Regions from separate parts of the Homo sapiens genome. Here regions 1 and 2 are each linked to region 3. Evidence: promoter capture Hi-C in 16 types of primary human blood cells and fetal thymus (Javierre and others, 2016). All regions are on one chromosome and are shown on one strand. The core of a region is centred on a gene start or on the middle of the fragment in contact, and the rest is flanking DNA. Distances in the headings are between cores, read along the strand shown. Region 1 overlaps TRIM66 (tripartite motif containing 66). Region 2 overlaps ZNF143-AS1 (ZNF143 antisense RNA 1). Region 3 holds the start of ARFIP2 (ARF interacting protein 2).

Region 1 (4,463 bases), core at 731-3,230, 2.2 Mb after region 3:
TAGAGACGGGGTTTCACCGTGGTCTCGATCTCCTGACCTCATGATCCACCCGCCTCGGCCTCCCAAAGTGCTGGGATTACAGGCATGAGCCACCGAGCCCGGCCCACACTCTTAATTAGTGAAATGTTCTTAAGCTGAGGTCCACACACATATTTTCATGAGTTCTGTCCACTAATTTTTTAAAATTAGTGTTTCATTGTGATAATAAAGTTTTAAAAAGTATAGTCTGGATTATCTACATATCTACCACAATATGATTTTGGGGGTAGTGTTAAGAGTCTAGGATTTAGTACACACTAGGCAGTATTACTTGTCTCAGGTTAATGAGCTGAGAGAGGGGCAGACTTAATACACAAATAATGTATTCTTGCCACTTGAAGTCTAAACAACATTGTGGCACAAAATGATGCATGTTTTACAGTACTTGGAACAGAGAAAGGAAGTGGGAAAACTGAGCCATCATCATTGTGGCATATGTTTGCTGAACTTAGCTACAAGAGTGAGCACCACATTTAAGTCATAATGATAGTTTAGTTTAGAAAAACATCACATACATGTGAAATTAATATTATTAATTTGATGGCTTTGTAGTTTTTTACAATTTGTAAACTATATTCAGTTTTATAGTTGTATAACAGCTAAAAGCCAAAGGAAGTTGTAGCTAGTTTTATATTTGTACTTATTTAAGAAACAAAATACAAATCATTTAATTCAAATCTGGGTCTTGGTAATTATGCAAGTTTGAGAAAAATTTCACTCCAGTCTGAAGTCTTTAGGAGCCAAGCCTTCAGGAAGGAGGAAGGGTGATGGGGCTGGGAGAGGCCAGGCTGCCTGGGGTCCAGAAAGATGCCACTACATAAAGCTATAGATAGACCTGCACTTCTAATTCCTTCTGGGCATTATTTAGCAGAAAACAGCCATAGCAGCAGCATGATTAGAGACGAGGACAGTCTCTATTAGAAGGTTCAAGCATGCCTGAGTTTATTTCACTGGGCCAGTAGTTCTCAAACTTTTTGGTCTTGGGAATCCCTTTACATATGTTTACTCATTGAAGACCCCAAAGAGAGTTCATTTATGTGAACTATTGCTATTTACCACACTAGAAGTTAAAGCTGAGAAAATCTATTGCTATTTACCACATTAGAAGTTAAAGCTGAGAAAATTTTAAAACATTAATTTTCATAAAATAATAAACTTGTTATATGTTAACACGAATAACATACTTTTTGGAAAAAATAACTATTTCCTTTTTTCCATTTATTTATTTATTTATTTTTTGAGACAGGGTCTTGCTCTGTTGCCTAGGCTGGAGGGCAGTCGTGCGAAGTTCACTGCAGCCTCAAACTTCTGAGCTCAACCAAACTTCTTGCTTCAGCCTCCTAGGCAGCTAGCACTATAGGCATGTGCCACCACACCCGACTATTTTATTTTCATTTTTATTTTTGTAGAGACCAGGTCTTGCTATGTAGCCCAAGCTGGTCTCAAATTCCTGGACTCAAGCGATCCTCCATTTTGGCCGCCCGAAGTGCTGGGATTATAGGCGTGAGCCACTGCACCCAGCCTAAAAAAAAAAAATCAACTACTTTCAAAAAAATTAATTTAATGAGAAGAGTCACATTGTTTCTCATATGTGCCAAACCCTTTAACATCTGGCTTAATAAAAGACGGCTGGACTCCCATACCTGTTTCTGCAGTCAATCTGTTATATGTTGTTTTGTTCACAGTATATGAGGAAAATCCAGTCTCACACAGACATACAGCTGGAAAAGATAGGAGTACTTTAATAGCCTTATCAGGTAATTGTGGATATTCTTTGATACCACACCAAAATTCAACAGTGGTAGTAGTTTCTTAAATGTTATTTATAAGGTAGACTCTGAACCAAACTTTTCTTATTCTGTTATATTAAAATCTGCTGATCTTGCTCTTTGAACTAGTCTTTTCCCCAGGCACAGTTTTTTAACACCAAGCATTGGTCATTTGGAAAATACCAGTTCAATGACTTATGCAGATGTTCCAAATATCGACACATTTCATTACACAATAACAAAAAATCACATTCTTTAGAATCACCTCGAATCTCATCAGAAAATTCTTTTAAGCATTGAGAAGCTGCCAAATTCATGGAGGCAGCAAAAACTACCAGAATTCTAACTTTTGCTTGAACGCTTGAATTTTATCATTGGCAACAAATACTGTCAATTCACTTTTGAGAAAATATCGGACAAATTCCCAAGCCTGAATAACCACAGTTTGTCTGCCAGTTATTCTTTTTTTAGATGCAGTTTTGCCCTTGTTAACCAGGCTGGAGTACAATGGCGTGATCTTGGCTCATAGAAACCTCCACCTCCCAGGTTCAAGTGATTCTCCTGCCTCAGCCTCCCGAGCAGCTGGGATTACAAGCATGCACCACCACACCCAGCTAATTTTGTATTTTTAGTAGAGACAGGGTTTCTCCATGTTGGTTAGGGTGATCTCAAACTCCCGACCTCAGATGATCCACCTGCCTTGGCCTCCCAAAGTGCTGGGATTACAGGCATGAGCCATCGCACCCGGCCTGCCAGTTGTCCTTTCGTGTAATACTGATGTTTCACTTTTTATTTTTTTAATTATTATTTATTTATTTATTAATTTTTGAGAGAGTCTCGCTCTGTCGTCAGGCTGGAGTGCAGTGGCGTGATCTTGATTCACTGCAACCTCCGACTCCCTGGTTCAAGCGATTCTCCTGCCTCAGCCTCTCAAGTAGCTGGGATTACAGGCATGCACCACTACGCCCAGCTAATTTTTGTATTTTTAGTAGAGACGGGGTTTCACCATGTTGGCCAGGATGGTCTCAATCTCCAGACCTCGTGATCCACCCGCCTCAGCTTCCCAAAGATTACAGGCGTGAGCCACCACATCGTCCATTATGTTTCATTTTTTAAAAGGCTAGTTTAACTTGCAACTCAATAGCACAAGCACAGTTTCTCACTTTGATATGTAGTAGGAATACTTTTTCTTCACACAGAACATCAAAAAGAAATCTAAAAAAGTACTTAAGAATTTCAGGATTGAGATTTAATAAAAATTGTTACCACTTCATCATGGATGGACATTCTTAAGGTAAACTTCTTTTTTTTTTTTTTAACCGGCAGATGCTTAGTGGTAAAGAATATAAGGTTTTGTTCCAGTTTGGTGCCCAAAACATCAGCAGTTTTACATAACATTGCTTTGGCACCATCAGTGCAAATGTCAACCCAGTGAAAAGATCAAATAACACGTTAGCTTTATTATTAAAATTGTTTGACCTGTGAACTCCCTGAAACGGTCTCAGGGACCCCCCACCCCATAAGGTCTACAGACCACACTTGGAGAACTACTGCATTAGACCTTGCATCACAATCCTGGGAATTCAGGGAGGTAGCATGGCTTTCCACCACCAGCAAGTACTACACAGGGTAAGAATATAAAGAAACAGGCATCTCATTTATGTCTTAGAAGAGCAATTGAAGTAACTCCATGAAAGTAAATGGTTAATTTAAAGGCACAGCCACACAATGAGTTTCTGATTTGAGAAGACGAAGGGTCAAATGACCCCATTTCTGCCCCCTTCTTATGGCTGCTTTCATCATAACTTAGTTCTTCCCTCTCCTTCTTATCTCCCCTGACCTAGAAGAGTGTAGGGGACAGAGTTTGCAAGACTGTACTTAAGCCAAGGTAGTAAATTCAAATGCCTACAGGGGCTGGGCAATCTATATGAACGAAGTGCTTTACTTAAAAGAATGTGGGTCTAATGTCTCCAAATCTTAGTTTTCCAAAACCCAGGAAATTATTTTTATTTACATTTTAAAATGTTAACAAAAAGTTAAATTTTAAAACATTGCCTTGCCACAAACCACCTCCTTTTAACATCTTACCACATCTATATCTAAGAAAAGGAAAATATTTACTGGAGTACCTTAACCTTGCTAAGGAATGATGGAACAAGTCATTCCACATCACATTGGGAATAAGAATTTCAAAGATTGTTTGCATGAAGGGTACAGAACAAATTATCATAAAAATAACACTCATTTTAGGGAGAAAATGTGAGCGAGAAATAGTAGGTAATGAGAGTACCTACTCTTTGCTAGGCTGTGTTATATGTGATATATTATTTGTTTGCTTGTTTAATGTATGTCTTAGACATAGTCTTAGGGAAGGACTTTTGTTCACAATTGTACCTGCCCCTCACTTGCCTGGCACCTAGCATAGGAACATAGTACACACTCAATTAATATTTATAAAACGAATGAATGAATCTCATTATTTTTTCATTATACAGACAAGAAAACAGATTCAAAGAGAACATGCTATTTGTTCAATATAATTCAGTGAGTAAAAACAGAACTAGGAGGCTGGGCGTGATGGTCATGCCTGTAATCCCAGTGCTTTGGGAGGGCGAGGTAGGAGGGCTGCTTGAGGCTAGCAGTTTGAGACCAGCC
Region 2 (4,089 bases), core at 1,300-3,799, 3.0 Mb after region 3:
TATTTATTTATTTATTTATTTATTTTTGAGACAGAGTCTCCCTCTGTCGCCCAGGCTGGAGTGCAGTGGCGCGATCTTGGCTCACTGCAAGCTCCTCCCGGGTTCACGTCATTCTCCTGCCTCAGCCTCCCGGGTAGCTGGGAGTATAGGCGCCCGCCACCACGCCCGGCTAACTTTTTTTTTTAATTTTTAGTAAAGACGGGGTTTCACCGCGTTAGCCAGGATGGTCTGGATCTCTTGACCTCGTGATCCGCCCGCCTCTGCCTCCCAAAGTGCTGGGATTACAGGCGTGGGCCACGGCGCCCGGCATGAAACTTTTTTTTTTTTTTTGAGACAGAGTCTCGCTCTTGCGCCCAACCTGGAGTGAAGTGGCACGATTTTGGCTCATGGCAACCTCCGCCCCGCAGGATCAAGCTATTATCCTGACTCAGCCTCCCGAGCAGTTGGGATTACAGGCACCCACCACTATGGCCGGCTAATTTTTGTTTTTTGCTTTTTTGAGATGGAGGCTCGCTCTGTCACCCAGGCGGGAGTGCAGTGGTGCGATCTCGGCTCACTGCAACCTCTGCCTTCCAGGTTCAAGGGATTCTCCTGCCTCAGCCTCCTGAGTAGCTGGGACTGTAGGCGCATGCCACCACGCCCAGATAATTTTTTGTATTTTTATTATTTATTTATCTTTTTGTTTGCTTTTTTGGGACAAAGTCTTGCTCTGTTGCCCAGGCTGGAGTGCAACGGCACGATCTCGGCTCACTGCAACCTCCGCCTCCCGGGTTCAAGCGATTCTCCTGCCTCAGCTTCCCAAGTAGCTGGGATTACAGGCACCTGCCACCATGCCCGGCTAATTTTTGCATTTTTAGTAGAGACGGCGTTTCACCATGCTGGCTAGGCTGGTCTCAAACTCCCGACCTCAGGCGATCTGCCCACTTCCGCCTCCCAAAGTGCTGGGATTACAGGCGTGAGCCACTGTGCCCGGCCAATTTTTTGTATTTTTAGTAGAGACGGGTTTTCACCGTGTTAGCCAGGATAGTCTTGATCTCCTGACCTTGTGATCCGCCCGCCTCGTCCTCCCAAAGTGGTGGGATTACAAGTGTGAGCCACCGTGCCCAGCCTAATTTTTGTACTTTTAGTAGAGATGCGATTTCGCCATGTTGGCCTGGTTGGTCTCGAACTCCTGACTTCAGGTGGTCCACCCTCCTCGGCCTCCCAAAGTGCTGGGATTACAGGTGTGAACCACCGCACCCGGCCTTTTTTTTTTTTTAGATGGATTCTCACTCTGTCACCCAGGCTGGAGTGGAGTGGTGTGACCCTGGCTCACTGCAACCTCCGCCTCCGGGGTTCAAGCCATTCTCCTGCCTCAGCCTGCTGAGTAGCTGGGATTACAGGCGCCCACCACCACGCCGGGCTAATTTTTGTATTTTTAGTAGAGACGGGGTTTCACCATGGCTCGAACTCCTGACCTCGTGATCCGCCTGCCTCGGCTTCCCAAAGTGCTAGGATTGCAGGTGTGAGCCACCGCGCCCGGCCTGAAATAATTGCTTTTAAGCTTAACTCATCGTTTATCTTTTTTCTATATATATCATATATAATTTCTATATATATAGTATACATATATATCATATATAATTTCTATATATATATAGTATACATATATACTACTTTAATGCTTATAGCATGGTATAAATATGCCAAAACCAACCAATTCTCCAGTAAGTTTTAAGTTACTGAAAGAAGTGTTTTAGAAAATATTATCTTAACAGTTTTTGAAGGGGGCTACAAATAAGTTACCTCTTGTTTAGGAAGTTGGGGAAATTATTTAATTTCTGCATTTAAGAGCCTGGACTAGTACTGATTGACAGGGAAACATTTTCAAGCCATTAATTTGACCGGATATAACACGATATAAGGGAAGGGAGATGAATGGGATAACATTTTAAGCTTATGAATGGCTCTGAATATATGTACATTTGAACTCTGTTCTATAGTCACTGGTAAATACTGTTAACACAACGTTCCATTACCTGTGACAAATCAGAATTAGGTTTCTCTCTGAATCCAGTTACAATTATAGCATCCTATCCACCGCCACCATCATCGCCATTCAATTTTTAGAACAACTCAGTAGCTTCTGGGGATACAAAGATGTCCTGTAATTGTTATCTACAATAAGAGGGCGATTTAAAAATTCTTGAGATTCTGTATTATAGTGTTTTAATGAGTAGCCTACAGGCATGGGACTTAGTGGAACTGCATAAAAATATTCTGATGGGTTAAAAAACACCTCCAATTACAAAACACAGATACATGTGGAGGGAACAGAAATTATAAATTAAAACCATTTGTTTTTCAGCTGGGCTACTTCTTTGTAACAGAGAATGTATCCATTGGGTAGGAGACTGATTTTAACTGAGCAAAATCCTCCAGTTAAAAGTAACCTAATCCTTTTTTTTTTTTTTTTTTTTTTTTTTTTGAGACGGAATCTTGCTCTGTTGCCCAGCCTGGAGTGCAGTGGCGCAATCTCAGCTCACTGCAAGCTCCGCCTCCCGGGTTCACGCCATTTTCCTGCCTCATTCTCCCGAGTAGCTGGGACTACAGGCGCCCGCCACCACGCCTGCTAAATTTTTTGTATTTTTAGTAGAGACGGGGTTTCACCGCGTTAGCCAGGATGGTCTCGATCTCCTGACCTCATGATCTGCCCGCCTTGGCCTCCCAAAGTGCTGGGATTACAGGCGTGAGCCTCCGCGCCCGGCCACCTAATCCATTTTTTATATGTGACACTTTTATTTTAAGGGCTTAAAAAGTAATCCGGGCCGGGCGCGGTGGCTCACGCCTGTAATCCCAGTACTTTGGTAGGCTGAGGTGGGCGGATTACGCGGTCAGGAGTTTCAGACCAGCCTGGCCAACATGGTGAAACCCCGTCTCTACTAAAAACAGAAAAATTAGCCGGGCGTGATGGTGGGCGCCTGTAGTCCCAGCTACTCAGGAGGTTGAGGCAGGAGAAATCGCTTGAACCTGGGAGGCGGAGGTTGCAGTGAGCTGAGATCGTGCCACTGCATTGCAGTCTGGGCTACAGGGCGAGACTCCGTCTCAAAAAACAAACAAACAAACAAAAAACAGTAATCCGAACTGATTTAAACTTCTTTATTAACAGAATATATGTTCAAACAAAGCTTAAAGTCCCATTTTCTTTCCATTGGCGTCTAGGCCCCTATTACTCAACTATCCGTTGGTTAGGGCCTGCACCTCAAGGTAGGCTTAATTGTAAATCAAAATATTTACTATCCACACTTAGAGGGCTATCTGTAACATCGTTTTTATTTATCCCCGTCCATTCGATAATCGTCTGAAATGCAAGACATTAAGTTGAACATCATCCAGCTTTCTCCCTGTTTTTCTAAGCGCGATCCAAATCTGTTACAACAGGGTAGTCTCTCATTCTCTTGGTAGCTCAATTCTACCCCCTGGCCGACTTAAGAAATTTTGAGTCTAATACACCCACCTCATCTTTAGTCGGCCTGGTGCGCCAACGCAAATTTGTACTGAGTACCTTCGGAACTGACTAGTAAGTATATCCAAAGGTTTAGAAAGGGCTGGGTTAAGAGCTACAAGAAGCATTAACCGCAACGGCCACAACTAATTTGTATCCATTCTTAGTAACTTTAGGGAACCAGACTGAATGCTTCTCCCACCCTTTTGACTTTCCTTTATTAGTTCGCAACACAAGAACATACAAAAGACCGTAGCGACAACCATTTCTGACGCCTTCAACTTTTAAATCCAAATTACGTGAAACCACAAAGCATCAGTGGTGTCTCCCCGAGGAATCCAAGACCCCCCGGCCGGTTGCCAAGCCGCCGGAATTTCAGCAGGAGAGGAAGGCTCACCCTCCCACCGCATGGCGATGCCCGGGAGACTGGAGAAGCTCAGGCAGGCTTGGAAGCCAATCCCCGGCATACAGCAGCTCTCGGGAATGCAGAGCCCTAGAGCAAGACCAAGGGCCTCGGCCGACACTGAGAGCCTCCAGGGAGAGGTCAGGTCTCTCTTTCTGTCCTATTTCTCCCTTCGACTTCCCTCCCAGCAGGCTGCTATTGA
Region 3 (4,304 bases), core at 162-2,661:
ACCATTCCTGTCCCCTCCTCCACCCAAGATTCCTGTTTCTGAACATTCATACCTGTGGGGATGAGTCCATCACCAGAGCCCCCATAGCCACCAGACACAATGCTGGTTTCATTGAGGTTGGGTCCTGACACCATCACCTGCTGGAGGTCCTATAGGCCAGAGAAGAGGGGTTGCTTCAGGAACATAGGGGCTGCAGAAGCATTTTGGAGGTGGGAACAAGTTTGGATTCAAGCATCATAAAGATAGTACACAAGGGAAGTCTGCACAGAATCAAAATGATACGTAAAAAGAATGAAGGGAGTCAGATAAGTCAGGGGAAGGCTACTGGAATGGAGGGTGAGAACCTAGGATTTATAAATTGGATTCCTAAATTGAAACAATTAGAAGAATCAAACAGAAGCACCTGCTCCAGCCCATCATCTTCAGGAAGCTGCCTGGCTTCGCCGTTCCCGTGGATAGGGATCTCCATTGTGGCTGCCTTCCCTAGGATCCCGTCCGTCATGGCTAGGAAAGGTATTGGAGTAAAACTCTCCACCCCAGCACCCTGCAAAGCCCAACACAGAAGTTCTGGACACTGGCCAGCACTCTAGAAGAAGGAGGCCTCCTCTGTCATTTCTTTAAAGGCTGTCCCAGGGTTTGAGTGTCCCAGCGTTTGGCCATCATTCCTTTCTTCAGATATATGTATTTCTCCCCTCCAAAACGCACATTTGAAACAGGCACACCAAAGCACGGTGTCTTCTCACAAGCCCCCAACCTCACCAGGACTCTGGTGATTATTTCTACACTCATTCAGCAGACATTTAGTGAGTGCCTACTATGTGTCAGGCACTATTTGTGACAATGAAAATACAACAGTGAAGAGGGAAAGTCTGCTCTCTTAGAACTTATCTCCATGCAGGCGTGTTTATGCTGAGGAGATGAACCCTTTCCAGGGCTCAGGTCTTCACCCCCCTATTCAGGTTTGTTCTCCATTGCTTGGCCTTTCACATTCCTTTAGCGTTTCTTCCCCCTTCCTTCAGGGGGTCTCCCCTCCTCCGTCTCATACACCTCGTCTTCCTCGGGCCCTCCCCACCAGGCCTTAGTTAGATCAGTGGGTGTATGTTCCCAGTCTCTGGTAAAAGCCTCTCTCTCCCAGGATATCGGTGACCCTTCCACAGTCAGTTATGTCTCCCAGGTGTGTGAGTCCCCGCCCCCACCCCCATACACCTGGACATCAGGTGTGTCCTCATCCTTCCCCGGGGCTCGGGGCATCTTGCCCTCTGGACAGGTTTGTGCGTTCAACTTCCCGTCGCCCAAGCATGTTCCTCTCACCTCGGGCCGGGCCGCTCTTCCCCTCAGGGCGCCAGGCCCGGGCCGCGCGGGGACCTCGGGCTCCAGTTCCCGTCGCGATCCTAGCAGCAGGTCAGGGACTCGGCGGAAATGACGTCCTCTCCGGGCAGAAGAAGCCGGCCACGTCGCAGATTATAAGGGCGGAGCTGACGTCGCAGCCAGGGCAGGGCGATACTCGAGCTAGCTCTCGAGATCAGCGAGAGGTTACTTCCGGGGCGGCACCGAGAAGCTGAAACGGAAGTGGCGTACGGCATGCGCCGGTGGCGTGATGGAGCGGCAGCAGCAGCAGCAACAGCAACTGCGAAACGTAAGTGAGAACTAAGTCGTTTCGAGGCCAGACGTTCAGCTCGCATTCCTGCACACATCGCGGGAACCCCACAGGGCCAGGGATTTGAGGGCTGGAAACTTCGGGCTATGGCGCGCGGGCCTGGGAAACTTTGGGCGGCGCGACCTTGACTAGAAGTGTGGGGCCCTTATCGCTGAGTTTGTGGTCCCCCTTTTCTCTCAGCTGCGTGACTTCCTGTTGGTCTACAATCGGATGACAGAACTCTGCTTCCAGCGCTGTGTGCCCAGCTTGCACCACCGAGCTCTGGACGCTGAGGAGGTGGGGAACTGTGTAGGGAGGTTACGCTGCAAGAAGAGTTTAGCGGTAGACTGCTTCCCTCCTCACCCCACTTCCCGTACCTCTGGCCCTGGCCTTCCCACGACCCTCACCCCTAGGCTGGGCATGGGGAAGAAAGGAGGCGGACCCGACAGGGCACCTTTATCCTCCACTTAAACCCTATCTTCCTTCTAGGAGGCCTGTCTGCACAGCTGTGCTGGGAAGCTGATCCATTCCAACCACCGCCTCATGGCCGCTTACGTGCAGCTCATGCCTGCCCTGGTACAGCGCCGCATCGCAGACTACGAGGCTGCCTCGGCTGTGCCAGGCGTTGCTGCTGAACAGCCTGGGGTCTCTCCATCAGGCAGCTAGCCATACCCAACCCCAGGAAGGAAGGCCTTGGATGGACCCTCAGATTGAAGGACCCGGTGGACCTTGGGGTTGGTGAATCCTAAACAGAGAGAATTCGAGGTTGCCTGAAAGCTGGGTGTCCTTGCTCCTTTTCCTGGAGCCAATATACCCAGTTTTTACTCAGTTTGATTTATATTCTGGGCAAGGAAGCTTTGCCTACTTTATTGGCACAATCCGTTGTTCTGTCGTTTAGTGCATATCTGCTGGCTTCAGCCCTGGCAGCTGAGAAATTGTTTTCTATATGTAGAAGGAAAACCTGAGCATTTGCAGGCATCTGGTTAAAGCAGGGTCTGTGTGTACAATTTTAAAACGGGTAATATGTCATGCTCTTAGTTCATCTTCACAACAAAACTATGAGTAAGCGGTATTAGCCTCACTTAACAGATGAGGAAGCAAGATTCCAGAAAGTACCAGAAGGTCATTTTATACAACAGGAGATTGGTTCCTGCCCAGATGACAGAAAATGGGAGCTCTGTCTAGTTGTCCTTAAGTCTGACTGACTTCAGTGGCTCATAACCGTGAGCCAAGTATTTGTTGGTTCATAACTGTTGTTTTGTGAACTATGTCTTACATGTCTAGAGTTCTGCTGGATCTAGGGAAAGGAGGAGCTATCGAAGTACAACGGATCAAAAAACCACAGGGCTTTTGGGCACTGCCTCCTTGGGAAGTTAGTGGCCACAGAAGAGAGATGAAACCTGTAAGAAGTCTGGAGTCTTTTGGAACTTCAGCCATTTCCCCAGGTTGTTACTTTCTTAGTATGTACAGTCTTCTCAGGATGAGCAGTAAAACCTTTGAACAAAGGTCTGTGTGGTTGTCTTCACGGGCAATCAGGAAGGGAGAGAGCTGGGGACCATATTCTGCAATGCAGCCAAATCCGAGGAAGAGAAACTGAAGGGAGAAGTAGATGGCAATGGTTATGATAAAAAGGGATAAAACTAAATCTTCGGGACTTCTTTAATGCTACGTTAATGTTTCACTGCTCGTCTAGAAACTCCTAAATCCAGCTTTCTATCATCTGCCCCACATTGGTCCCATTGAGTACATTCTGTGATTTCTAATTCCAGCCTCTCCATTCTTTTCTCATTATTGCCTCCCCCGCCCCCCAACTTTGTGTAATTTACTTCTGTATTCAGCAGCCTGGATAGCATATCATTCCATCACCCCATTTTCTTGCCACCATTGGCCATCTTTTTGTATCATTCCACTTATTCTGTCTTTTCCATTCCTTCATTCAAACTGCTAGAGAAAAACAGTTGTGTAATGAATGCCACTAAATATTCAAGGCCTCCAACCTCAGCCAAGTCCTCACACCAACACGCAGTCACACCAACACACACCTTTATGGGTTCCTGGTCCATTTCCTTCTCTAATTACCATGGCAGTTATTTTACACCTCTACTGCTGTCCTTAATCCCATACCCCACCCTCATCAGGTGACCCTGTTTCCTTTTTTAGAGAAATTGAAGCTCTTAGACATTGGTTTCCACAGTAATAATTTTAAAACTTCTTACAACTACCTACAAAGCAGATGTTCTATCCTATCTACAGAGCAGAAAATTGAAATTCTCAAGTAGCAGACCCGGTATTAAAGTGCAGATCTGACTTTAAAGTCCATGTTCATTTTACACAGCAGGCTGCCTCTTAAGATAGTATTTATTGAGCACACACTTTGTGTAGGTTCTGATTTTGGTAGATGTCATGCTTTATATTAATCTTTACAACAACTATAAGTAAGAGGTATTAACCTCACTTAACAGATGAGGAAGCAAGAATCCAGAATGTGCCAGAAGGCACATTCTGCAGATTTCGTGCAAACATTTATACACAGCTTCTTTTTTTTTTTTTTGAGACAGAGTCTCGCTCTGTCACCCAGGCTGGAGTGCAGTGGAGCGATCTAGGCTCACTGCAACCTCCGCCACCCGGGTTCAAGCAGTTCTCCTGCCTCAGCCTCTCGAGTAGCTGG

What was found. The method cuts DNA at HindIII sites, captures the fragments that hold promoters and counts their contacts. A CHiCAGO score of 5 or more calls a contact.
Region 1: a fragment that was not itself captured here is called in contact with the fragment with the promoter of ARFIP2 in region 3 in 1 of 17 cell types (fetal thymus); the score reaches 5.3 in fetal thymus.
Region 2: a fragment that was not itself captured here is called in contact with the fragment with the promoter of ARFIP2 in region 3 in 1 of 17 cell types (activated CD4 T cells); the score reaches 5.3 in activated CD4 T cells.

The regions. Positions count from the first base shown.
Region 1 is chr11:8,673,124-8,677,586 of GRCh38, forward strand. TRIM66 (tripartite motif containing 66) reads right to left here. Exons shown (of 25, transcript NM_001388022.1): 4 at 1,683-1,760. Among named protein-coding and RNA genes, the nearest start is that of TRIM66, 7.3 kb to the right of the region's middle. The HindIII fragment of the contact is 5,452 bases long and covers 1-4,463 here.
Region 2 is chr11:9,456,432-9,460,520 of GRCh38, forward strand. ZNF143-AS1 (ZNF143 antisense RNA 1) reads right to left here. Exons shown (of 1, transcript NR_036539.1): 1 at 3,125-4,089. Among named protein-coding and RNA genes, the nearest start is that of ZNF143-AS1, 2.2 kb to the right of the region's middle. RefSeq lists enhancers at 2,950-3,585, 3,785-3,864, 3,955-4,054. The HindIII fragment of the contact is 1,232 bases long and covers 1,934-3,165 here.
Region 3 is chr11:6,479,920-6,484,223 of GRCh38, forward strand. It overlaps ARFIP2 (ARF interacting protein 2), which reads right to left and starts at 1,412. Exons shown (of 8, transcript NM_001376558.2): 1 at 1,312-1,412; 2 at 404-544; 3 at 53-149. The coding sequence starts at 502. TIMM10B (translocase of inner mitochondrial membrane 10B) reads left to right here and starts at 1,582. Exons shown (of 3, transcript NM_012192.4): 1 at 1,582-1,636; 2 at 1,838-1,933; 3 at 2,126-4,304. The coding sequence starts at 1,598. The coding sequence ends at 2,302. RefSeq lists enhancers at 1,005-2,204, 1,041-1,160, 1,641-1,690. The HindIII fragment of the contact is 2,521 bases long and covers 1-2,489 here.